Regions from separate parts of the Homo sapiens genome. Here all the other regions are linked to region 1. Evidence: promoter capture Hi-C in human tissues and cell types (Jung and others, 2019). All regions are on one chromosome and are shown on one strand. The core of a region is centred on a gene start or on the middle of the fragment in contact, and the rest is flanking DNA. Distances in the headings are between cores, read along the strand shown. Region 1 holds the start of ADCY4 (adenylate cyclase 4). Region 2 has its middle 21 kb from the start of DHRS4L2. Region 3 has its middle 16 kb from the start of DHRS4-AS1.

Evidence for each region. The method cuts DNA at HindIII sites, captures the fragments that hold promoters and counts their contacts. A contact is called where the count stands out against the background at its distance.
Region 2: a fragment that was not itself captured here is called in contact with the fragment with the promoter of ADCY4 in region 1 in 2 of the 25 tissues and cell types used here (pancreas and small bowel).
Region 3: a fragment that was not itself captured here is called in contact with the fragment with the promoter of ADCY4 in region 1 in 1 of the 25 tissues and cell types used here (spleen).

The regions. Positions count from the first base shown.
Region 1 is chr14:24,332,450-24,336,890 of GRCh38, forward strand. It overlaps ADCY4 (adenylate cyclase 4), which reads right to left and starts at 2,622. Exons shown (of 25, transcript NM_001198568.2): 1 at 2,045-2,622; 2 at 342-539; 3 at 73-234. The coding sequence starts at 2,203. It overlaps RIPK3 (receptor interacting serine/threonine kinase 3), which reads right to left. Exons shown (of 10, transcript NM_006871.4): 9 at 4,436-4,441; 10 at 3,576-3,946. The coding sequence ends at 3,726. RefSeq lists silencers at 1,259-1,358, 2,019-2,178, 2,249-2,328. The HindIII fragment of the contact is 10,200 bases long and covers 1-4,441 here.
Region 2 is chr14:24,007,616-24,011,719 of GRCh38, forward strand. It overlaps the pseudogene DHRS4L1. Among named protein-coding and RNA genes, the nearest start is that of DHRS4L2, 21 kb to the left of the region's middle. The HindIII fragment of the contact is 5,422 bases long and covers 1-4,104 here.
Region 3 is chr14:23,970,195-23,972,961 of GRCh38, forward strand. It overlaps a transcript of DHRS4L2 not described here. Among named protein-coding and RNA genes, the nearest start is that of DHRS4-AS1, 16 kb to the left of the region's middle. The HindIII fragment of the contact is 4,031 bases long and covers 1-2,767 here.

The DNA of each region.
Region 1 (4,441 bases), core at 1,372-3,871:
ACCCCCTAAAAGGAGCCTACTAGCACGTGGCAGAGCCGTCCTGAGCGCAGCCTGTGCTACTTGCGTGCTCACCTGCGGCAGCAGTGCAGGCCGTGAGTCCGGCTGTGGCCCAAGATACAGCCCGAGGACCAGCAGATGCGAGAGTGAGGAGGCGAGGCCCGCGACGGCGGCGTCCCGCATGCCCAAGGGCAGCATGGCATACGCCGTGAAGATGACGAAGAGAAAATAGGACACCTGGGGGCGGGGCGCGGGAAGCCGAAGGCCCAAGTGGGGCTATTCAAGGCCTGGTGAGGGATCGAAGCCCGGGCCGTCCCCGCTGCCCCGCCTGCCGCCCCTCTCACCTGGTCCCAGGCGCTCACCACGCCCCCGGTGAACAGGAAGGCGTGGCCTAGCGCTAGCAGCGCGACCCATACCAAGCCGGACAGGGGACGCGTCCAGCGCTGCAGTCGCTGCTCCCGGGAAGCGAGGCCCAGCAGCAGCGAGAAGCCGCCCAGCGCGCACAGCACAGTGGTCAGGAAGCTCGGGTCTGAGGTCAGCTCCTGTGGGCAGGGGTGTGTGAGGCAAGATTGTGACAGGGAGAAGGAACGAACCTGATAAAGGAAAAGCCAGCAGCCCAGCCCCTCAGCCCAGTTCTGAAAGGTGTCTCAAGCCTAAGTACGAAAAGGAGGCAAGGCACCTCCGCTTGCCATTCACTTTAGGTTGAACCATTTGAAATTGCTTGTGTCCTACTGCTTTTATCTAGACTCAGCAGTCTCGTATGGTTTTTGTTGGTTGGTTGGTTTGTTTTTTGAGACAGAGTCTTGCTCTGTCGCCCAGGCTGGAGTTCAGTGGCGCGATCTCGGCTTACTGCAACCTCTGCCTCCCGGGTTCAAGTGATTCTCATGCCTCAGCCTCCCGAGTAGCTGGGATTACAGGCTCCCGCCACCACGCCCAGCTAATTTTTTTTTTTTTGTATTTTTAGTAGAAGACAGGGTCTCGCCAAGTTGCCCAGGCTGGTCTCGAGCTCCTGGGCTCAAACGATCTCCCGCCTTGGCCTCCCAAAGTGCTGGGATTACAGGCGTGAGCCACAGCGCCCAGCCTCCTGTTGTCCAACCTATTATCTTGCTGGGACAGCTACCCAGAAGATCTGGCTCCCATCCCCTATTTGTTTCTGAGCCTCAGTTTTCTTATCTGTCAAACGGGAACCAAAGCGTCATGAAGCAAGTGAAAGATAGATCCAAGCTCACAAGGAGGCACTTCGGAATGAATGTCTCCAAATCTGGCCAATTTGCTCGGGAGATTCCCGGAGCCGGGGACCGCGGCCGGCAGCTTGAAGGGCGGCGCGAGGCAGCGCTCGAGCAGCAGGGGGCGCCAGGACCCGCGGCGTCCCGCACCTCCCTGGCCACCAGGGCTGCGATCTCGCCACCTGCCTCAACTCCAAGCAGAAGCTGCACAGCCGTCCCAGCATTTTGTCCCCACCTCTTCCCGGATTTAGGCGTGGACCAGCAAGGATTGGCCGCGCCCGGTGATTTTCCCACCTTGCCTCCAAGCAGTGAAAAGAAAACCAGGGGCAGGCCATTTCTAGAATTGGATTGAAGACCTTCTTCCTCCCCAAACAGAAACTGGACATGGGTTTACTTTGGGACTCAGTGAGAGCCCGGTGGAGGGTGCCTTCTGGGAGTCTGTGGGTACAACTGCTCTACATCCCCTAAGAGGGAGAGAAAGGCAGGAAATGAATTCCCCAGGGGCCTCCTAGAATTTCCCCTTTGGAAAACTGGAAAATCCGGTGATGGATTTATTGTAGAACCCGTAGACCACGGATGTTCATAAAGTCTGTCAGAACCCGGACAGAAACGAGAAGCATCCAGGACTCAGCTTTCTCCCTGAGCAGACCCAGAAGGGTAGAGTGACTTGCCCAGGGTCACTGCAGTTCCTAGCCAGGCTCAATGGTCCTTTCTTTCTCTGCTCCCAGCAACGAAAACACATCGAAAAGAAGACCCCACAAACCCCAACCCCGAAAATGCTCCCCAGGTAGAGACCCTCCCGCAGCAGAGGCTCGGCTCACCCTGCCGCTGGCCCAGGCCACTGCGAGCAGCGCCGCGAGCGCACAGAGCACGATCCCCAGCAGCAGCAGCAGCAGCGGGTACTGCTGGCTCAGGCTGTAGTAGGTCTCGTAGAAGAGGTCTTCGCTGGGGGGCGGCCGGGGGCTGAAGAGGCGGGCCATGATCTCCCCAGCCCCGAGCCCCGGGGCTGGCTAGGGCCGGGCGCCGGGTTACCTCCTTCGGCCCGGCGGGCCCCACCTGAGCTTTTCTCACCCGCTCAAAGCCGCTACCACCCCGCGCCCCCAACCTCGTGGCAATCCCGTCTCCTTTTTCAGGCCCTCCCTGCGGCCTCCCAGCCCGCTCCCAGCTGGCGATGAGGGGATCCCTCAGTCCTTTCCTCCTCCTCCCTCAAACCCGGATTGTAGAGGTGCCCTAGAAAAGCCTCATCGCCAGGAGGGCAGGATTTGGGGTTGGTGCGAGGGAGCCCCGGGTTCCCCTGATCCCCGAACTCACTGCCCGCGGCGCTGGCGCAGCGGAGTGGGCTAGGTCCGGGGAGGGAGCCGGGGACCTGATGGCGGAGTCACGCTCGCCGCTGCGCTCTGGCTCAGAGTCCCGGGCGACAGGCGCTTCCCTCCCGGCGCCGCGGCCCCCTCCCACTTCCCCGACGGGACAGCCCGGCCCCTTCCTGTGCCAAAGCCGGACTCCCCTGGTCTCCTCCCGCACTTGGTTTTGTCTCTCCTAACACCATCGCCTCCCCGCTTCAGCCCCTTCAGGGAAGGGCAATGTGGACCCTGGGAGAGATGCGAAGGGGTGGGCTGGGGTGGACCCAATGGGATGTGTCCAAATGGAGGTGAACGTTTGGTAGTGGGGAGACCGAGGGCGGGGGGCTGAAGCCTGGCGAGAATGTAGGGAAGAATGTGGGTCCTGGTGGGGATCTAGGTCAGAGTTGGGGGCGCTCATTCTCTTGACCTCTCCGCTTGGCTGGCAACCACTACCACCGGGTTTGAACTGTTCATGCTCCGTGGGAGGGGTTGCGCCTGTGTATAGCTTTAGGAGCCATAGCTTTCCACTCCCGAACAGCAACTGGGAATCAAAAGGGAAGCAATGTCCAGGAAGCAACCTGAGTGTGTGGTGGAGGCAGGTATGTGGCGTCATGATCTCTAAGAGCCTGGGGGCACCGTGCGGGGCCAGGTCTGTGATCTTTCACATCAACTCATCCCTCGCCAGAGCCCTGCAAGTGAGTCTTGAGAGCCCGGAAGAAAAGGGACCACAGCCTCTATCCCCAGAGTTTAGGGTTAGGGTGGGGTCGCCATCCTAGGCTTTAGAGGAAGCACTGCCCTGAGATTAGAGAGTGGTCTGGGGAACCAGGCCTCTAGGATTCCTTCCTGTTGTAGCCGGCTGTGCCCTGACCTTGTGTGCCAGGCCATTGCCCACTCCCAGCCCCCAGCATCCCCACTTCCTGCCATAGCAGAGCTGTGGTGCCTCCCTATCCCTCACTGGCAGCTCCCACCCCCATCCCAGTCCCTCCCTGCCCCTGGCTGAGCTCAGACTGACTAGCATTCCATCATGTTTATTGACTCCTGGGGGACAGGTCACAAAGTCAGTTTGTGGGCAGGCCAGACTGCCCTAGAAGGAAGTCAGGGGCCTCAAGGGGTGGCACTCTTCCTTAACTCGTAACTCTTGGAGGCAAGCTTGGAAGGTGCTTTATTTCCCGCTATGATTATACCAACCCTGTGGCCTGCTCCAGGCTTCAGGATCTTTAGGGCCTTCTTGCGAACCTACTGGTGGGGGGTGCTGCAAGCCCCTCCCCTTGCCCGAAGGTGCCAAGCCCCATGTGGGCAAGGCAGTTGTCTGTTGCATAGTCAAGTAGTTGTTGTCTCCAACTTGCACCCCAGAGCAGTTGTATATGTTAACGAGCGGTCGCCCTTTAAGAGAAATAGTGATGGTGGCAGGAGGGTTTAGCTGTCAGAAAGGCCAAGTTGGGGGTGGGTGGGGAGTATGAAGTCTCTACTTGTCAGTGGCTGTGTCAAGGTGTGCCCTGTGCTCCTCCCCTCAGAGCTCCTCTCCAGAATTGTGTTAGCAGAAGCTCTAGAGAGTGGCAATTGACATTTGAGACCCTGATCTTTTTTGCTGGGAGGTCCTCTGGACTGCTGAAACAATGGAACTTAGGGGGCTCACAGAGCTGGTGTTGTGGAAAGTTAGAAGATTCAGGGACAAATCCAAGCTTTGTTGTGTGACCTCAGAGGGCTCCTTTCTCAGGGGGTGTCGGTTTTCCCATTTATGAAATGAGAAGGTTGAGTTAGATCATCTTCTCCCCTCCCCTCCACAAAGTACCCTGAATCTAGATATAGGTCTGGAGGAGGAGTCTGGTGGAAGAATTGAACAGGGAAAAGAAAGAGGTAGAGAATGGGTACCTGTTA
Region 2 (4,104 bases), core at 671-3,170, 330 kb before region 1:
CGCAGCTCAGCAAGGCCTACTGCCTCTCCAGATTCCACCTCAGGGGCCAGGGCATATCTGAGCAAAAGGCAGCAGACAGCTTCTGCAGACTTCAGTGTCCTTGCCTGACATCTCTAAAGACAGCAGTGGTTCTCCCAGCACGGAGTTCGTGCTCCGATAACGGACAGACTGCCTCCCCAAGTGGGTCCCTGACCCCCATGTAGCTTGACTGAAAAACACCGCCCAGTAGGGGCAGAGAGACACCTCATACAGGTGGGTGCCCCTGTGGAACAAAGCTTCCAGAAGAAGGATCAGGCAGCAATATTTGCTGTTCTGCAGCCTCCTCTACTGATACCCAAGAAAATAAGGTCTGGAATGGACTTCCAGCAAACCCCCAAAGACCTGCAGCTGAGGGGCCTGTTAGAAGGAAAACTAACAAACAGAAAGGAATAGCATCAACATCAGCAAAGGACAGCATCAACATCAGAACAGGAAAGGACATCCACACTAAAACCCCATCCATAGGTCACCAACATCAAAGACCAAAGGTAGATAAAACCACAAAGATGGAGAGAAACCAGAGCAAAAAGGCTGAAACTTCCAGAAATCAGAACGTCTCTTCTCTTCCAAAGGAATACAAGTCCTCACCAGCAAGGGAACAAAACTGGATGGAGAATAAGTTTGATGACTTGACAGACGTAAGCTTCAGAAGGTCAGTAATAACAAACTACACCCAGCTAAAGGAGCATGTTCTAACCCATTGCAAGGAAGCTAAAAACCTTGACAAAATGTTAAACGAATGGCTAACTAGAATGAAGAATCTAGAGAAGAGCTTAAATGACCTGATGGAGCTGATAACCACAGTACAAGAACTTCATGAAGGATACACAAGCTTCAATAGCTGATTCAATCAAGTGGAAGAAAGGATATCAGTGATTGAATATAAAATTAATGAAATAAAGTGAGAACACAAGATTAGAGACAAGAAAAGAAAAAAGAAACATTCAAATTCAGGAAATACAGAGAACATCACAAAGACACTCCTTGAGAAGAGCAACCCCAAGACACATAATTGTCAGATTCAGCAAGGTTAAGGGCAGCCAGAGAGAAAGGTTGGGTTACCAACAAAGGGAAGCCCATCAGACTAACAGCAGATCTCTCAGCAGAAACCATACAAACCAGAAGAGAGTCGGGACCAATATTCAACATTCTGAAAGAAAAGATTTTTGGAACTAGAATTTCATATCCAGCCAAACTAAGCTTCGTAAGTGAAGGAGAAATAAAATCCTTTACAGACAAGCAGATGCTGAGAGAGTTTGTCACCACCAGGCCTGCCTTACAATAAGAGCTCCTGAAGGAAGCACTAAACATGGAAAGGAACAACCAGTACCAGCCACTGCAAAAACATACGAAATTGTAAAGACCATTGATGCTATGAAGAAACTGCATCAATTAATGGGCAAAATAACCAGCTAACGTCATGACAGGATCAAATTCACATATAACAATACTAACCTTCAATGTAAATGGGATAAATGCCCCAATTAAAAGACACTGACTGGCAAATTGGATAAAGAATCAAGACCCATATGGTGTGCTGTATTCAGGAGACCCAATCTCACGTGCAAAGACACACATAGGCTCAAAATGAAGGTGTGTCTGGAATTGGTGGGTTCTTGGTCTCACTGACTTCAAGAATGAAGCCACGGACCCTCGCAGTGAGTGTTACAGTCCTTAAAGGCAGCGTGTCCGGAGTTTGTTCCTTCTGATGTTCAGACACGTTCAGAGTTTTTTCCTTCTGGTGGGTTCGTGGTCTCGCTGGCTTCAGGAGTGAAGCTGCGGACCTTCACAGTGAGTGTTACAGCTCTTAAGGCGGCATGTCTGGAGTTGTTCGTTCCTCCCATCCGGAGTTGTTCATTCCTCCCACTGGGTTCGTGGCCTCACTGGCCTCAGGAGTGAAGCTGCAGACCTTCACGATGAGTGTTACAGCTCATAAAGGCCGTGTGGACCCAAAGAGTGAGGGGCAGCAAGATTTATTGCAAAGAGCGAAAGAACAAAGCTTCCACAGTGTGGAAGGGGACCCAAGCAGGTTGCTACTGTTTGAAGGGGTGGCTTGCCCCTCCACACCTGTGGGTATTTCTAGTCAGGTGGGACGAGAGACTGAGAAAGAGAAATAAGACACAGAGACAAAGTATAGAGAAACAACAGTGAGCCCAGGGGACCGGCGCTCAGCATACCAAGGACTTGCACCGGCACCGGTCTCTGAGTTCCCTCAGTTTTTATTGATTATTATCGTCATTATTTCAGTAAAAAGGAATGTAGTAGGAGGGCAGGGTGATAATAAGGAGAAGGTCAGCAACAAACGTGAGCAATAGAATCTAATAATTCAGTTCAAGGGAAGGTACTATGACTGGACATGCACGTAAGCCAGATTTATGTTTCTCTCCACCCAAACATCTCGGTGGAGTAAAGAATAACGAGGCAGCATTGCTGCAAACATGTCTCGCCTCCCACCATAGGGCGGTTTTTCTCTCATCTCAGAACTGAACAAATGTACAATCGGGATTTATACCGAGACTTTTAGTTCCCAGGAGCAGGCAGGAGACAGTGGCCTTCCTCTATCTCAACTGCAAGAGGCCTTCCTTTTTTACTAACCCACCGCAGCACAGACCCTTTATGGGTGTCGGGCTGGGGGACAGTCAGGTCTTTCTCATCCCAGGAGGCCATATTTCAGACTATCACATGGGGAGAAACCTTGGACAATACCCTGCTTTCAAGGGCAGAGGTCCCTGCGGCTTTCTGCAGTGCACTGTGCCCCTGGTTTATTGAGACTAGAGAATGGCGATGACTTTTACCAAGTATACTGCTTGTAAACATTTTGTTAACAAGGCACGTCCTACACAGTCCTAGATCCCTTAAACCTTGATTTCATACAACACATGTTCTTGTGAGCTCCAGGTTGGGTCAAAGTGGTTGGGTCAAAGTGGCTGGGGCAAAGCTAAAAATTAACAACATCTCAGAAAAGCAATTATTTAAAGTACAGGTCTTTTTCAAAATGTAGTCTCTTATGTCTTCCCTTTCTACATAGACACGGTAACAGTCTGATCTCTCTTTCTTTTCCCTACATATCCCCCTTTTCTTTTTGACAAAACTGTCATTGTCACCATGGCCTGTTTTTGCTGGTCACTGTCTTTCTGGAACTGCTGGATACACCTGTAGACTAACAATAGAGAGGGCAGACATACAAGGATTAATACAAAATTTGCAATAGTGGAATTTCCAATGGTTTTAACCCAAGTGATGGGGGCAAGAGGACAGTGTGGGTGCTCCGGCACCCAGGCAGTCTCCCTTCTCCTTTGTCTCTTAGTTGTTGTTTCTCATAGTTTTCAATCTTTCTCCTCACCTGCTCACTCGCACTTTTTGTTTCATTGTCTCCCTTCTCTTATGGTCTCTCTCTCTTTTTCTCTTTTTCTTCCTTTTACACTATTTCTTTTCCCAGTCTCACTTTCTGTGTCTCTCTCTGATCTCTGTCTTTCTCTTTTACATTATTTTTTTCCCCAGTCTCACCTTCTGTGTCTTTCTCTGATCTCTGTCTTTTCCAGTCTCTCTCTTACTCATTTTCTCCCTCTCTTTCTCTCTCTCTCTCTCTCTCTCTGTCTGTCATCCCGTGTCCTCTCTCCTTCACACTCAGTCTCTTTTTCTTTTTCTTTTTCTCCCTGGCTCTCCACATCTGCCGTTTTCTCTCCTTTCTCTTTCTGATTTCTCTTCTCACTTTCTCTCTTCCTTTCTTTCCCAGTTTCTCTTTTTTCTCTGTTGGTCTTTCCCAAATAATGAAAAGGAGTGGAGGTCTGAATGTTATCAGATGCTATTGTCAGGCCTGCGTTTGCAACCTCTGTCTGCAGAAATGTGTAACAGTCAATTAATTTGTCTCTCGTTTCTGCAGCACTCAAAATATCATCAACATAATGAATAATATAACAGTCTGAAAACTTGTCTCTAACTGGTTGAAGAACTTGAGCTACAAAAGTCTGACAAATAGTTGGACTATTAAGCATTCCCTGAGGCAACACTTTCCGCTGAAATCTGGTGGCTGGTTTTTTATTATTTATGGCTGGTATAGTAAAA
Region 3 (2,767 bases), core at 268-2,767, 360 kb before region 1:
GTTCCTTCCGGCCCTGCACCCCGGCCCGGTGCCTCACACCCCGCTACCCCAAGCATCCAGACTCTAAGGCAGCCCCTGCATCTCAGTCCTGACATCGCTGTCCCTGGAGCATCCTCCGCTGGAGCTGGAGCTTGACAGGTAGGGTGGAGAGGGCGGTGGGGGGCGGGGGGCCGAAACTGCATCAGTTAACGGGGCCGTGGGGGAGGGAAGTCCTCCATTGCTAAGGCTTCAGTAGGCGTTCTATGATCACAGTGTAAACAAAGCTGCAGGGAAGCTCTAACTGGGCGGAACCCACCGCAGCTCAGCAAGGCCTACTGCCTCTCCAGATTCCACCTCAGGGGCCAGGGCATATCTGAACAAAAGGCAGCGGACAGCTTCTGCAGACTTCAGTGTCCTTGCCTGACATCTCTAAAGACAGCAGTGGTTCTCCCAGCACGGAGTTCGTGCTCCGATAACGGACAGACTGCCTCCCCGAGTGGGTCCCTGACCCCCATGTAGCTTGACTGAAAAACACCGACCAGTAGGGGCGGAGAGACACCTCATACAGGTGGGTGCCCCTGTGGAACAAAGCTTCCAGAAGAAGGATCAGGCAGCAATATTTGCTGTTCTGCAGCCTCCTCTACTGATACCCAAGAAAATAAGGTCTGGAATGGACTTCCAGCAAACCCCCAAAGACCTGCAGCTGAGGGGCCTGTTAGAAGGAAAACTAACAAACAGAAAGGAATAGCATCAACATCAGCAAAGGACAGCATCAACATCAGAATAGCAAAGGACATCCACACTAAAACCCCATCCATAGGTCACCAACATCAAAGACCAAAGGTAGATAAAACCACAAAGATGGAGAGAAACCAGAGCAGAAATGCTGAAACTTCCAGAAACCAGAACGTCTCTTCTCTTCCAAAGGAATACAAGTCCTCACCAGCAAGGGAACAAAACTGGATGGAGAATAAGTTTGATAACTTGACAGAAGTTAAGCTTCAGAAGGTCAGTAATAACAAACTACTCCCAGCTAAAGGAACATGTTCTAACCCATTACAAGGAAGCTAAAAACCTTCAAAAAAAGGTTAAACGAATGGCTAACTAGAATGAAGAATGTAGAGAAGAGCTTAAATGACCTGATGGAGCTGATAACCACAGTACAAGAACTTCATGAAGGATACACAAGCTTCAATAGCTGATTCAATCAAGTGGAAGAAAGGATATCAGTGATTGAAGATAAAATTAATGAAATAAAGTGAGAAGACAAGATTAGAGACAAAAAAATAAAAAAGAAACATTCAAATTCAGGAAATACAGAGAACATCACAAAGATACTCCTTGAGAAGAGCAACCCCAAGACACATAATTGTCAGACTCAGCAAGGTTAAGGGCAGCCAGAGAGAAAGGTTGGGTGACCAACAAAGGGAAGCCCATCAGACTAACAGCAGATCTCTCAGCAGAAACCATACAAACCAGAAAAGAGTTGGGACCAATATTCAACATTCTGAAAGAAAAGATTTTTGAAACTAGAATTTCATATCCAGCCAAACTAAGCTTCGTATGTGAATGAGAAATAAAATCCTTTGCAGACAAGGAGATGCTGAGAGATTTTGTCACCACCAGGCCTGCCTTACAATAAGAGCTCCTGAAGGAAGCACTAAACATGGAAAGGAACAACGGGTACCAGCCACTGCAAAAACATACGAAATTGTAAAGACCATTGATGCTATGAAGAAACTGCATCAATTAATGGGCAAAATAACCAGCTAACGTCATGACAGGATCAAATTCACATATAACAATACTAACCTTCAATGTAAATGGGATAAATGCCCCAATTAAAAGACACAGACTGGCAAATTGGATAAAGAATCAAGACCCATATGGTGTGCTGTATTCAGGAGACCCATCTCACATGCAAAGACACACATAGGCCCAAAATGAAGGTATGTCTGGAATTGGTGGGTTCTTGGTCTCACTGACTTCAAGAATGAAGCTGCGGACCCTCGCGGTGAGTGTTACAGTTCTTAAAGGCAGCGTGTCTGGAGTTTGTTCCTTCTGATGTTCAGACATGTTCAGAGTTTCTTCCTTCTGGTGGGTTCGTGGTCTTGCTGGCTTCAGGAGTGAAGCTGCGGACCTTCGCAGTGAGTGTTACAGCTCTTAAGGCAGCATGTCTGGAGTTGTTCGTTCCTCCTGTCTGGAGTTGTTCATTCCTCCTGGTGGGTTCGTGGCCTCACTGGCCTCAGGAGTGAAGCTGCAGACCTTCACGGTGAGTGTTACAGCTCATAAAGGCAGTGTGGACCCAAAGAGTGAGCAGCAGCAAGATTTATTGCAAAGAGTGAAAGAACAAAGCTTCCACAGTGTGGAAGGGGACCCAAGCGGGTTGCTACTGCTTGAAGGGGTGGCTTGCCCCTCCACACCTGTGGGTATTTCTAGTCAGGTGGGACAAGAGACTGAGAAAGAGAAATAAGACACAGAGACAAAGTATAGAGAAACAACAGTGAGTCCAGGGGACCGGCGCTCAGCATACCAAGGACCTGCACCGGCACCGGTCTCTGAATTCCCTCAGTTTTTATTGATTATTATCGTCATTATTTCAGTAAAAAGGAATGTAGTAGGAGGGCAGGGTGATAATAAGGAGAAGGTCAGCAACAAACGTGAGCAATAGAATCTACATCATAATTCAGTTCAAGGGAAGGTACTATGACTGGACGTGCACGTAAGCCAGATTTATGTTTCTCTCCACCCAAACATGTCGGTGGAGTAAAGAATAACAAGGCAGCAT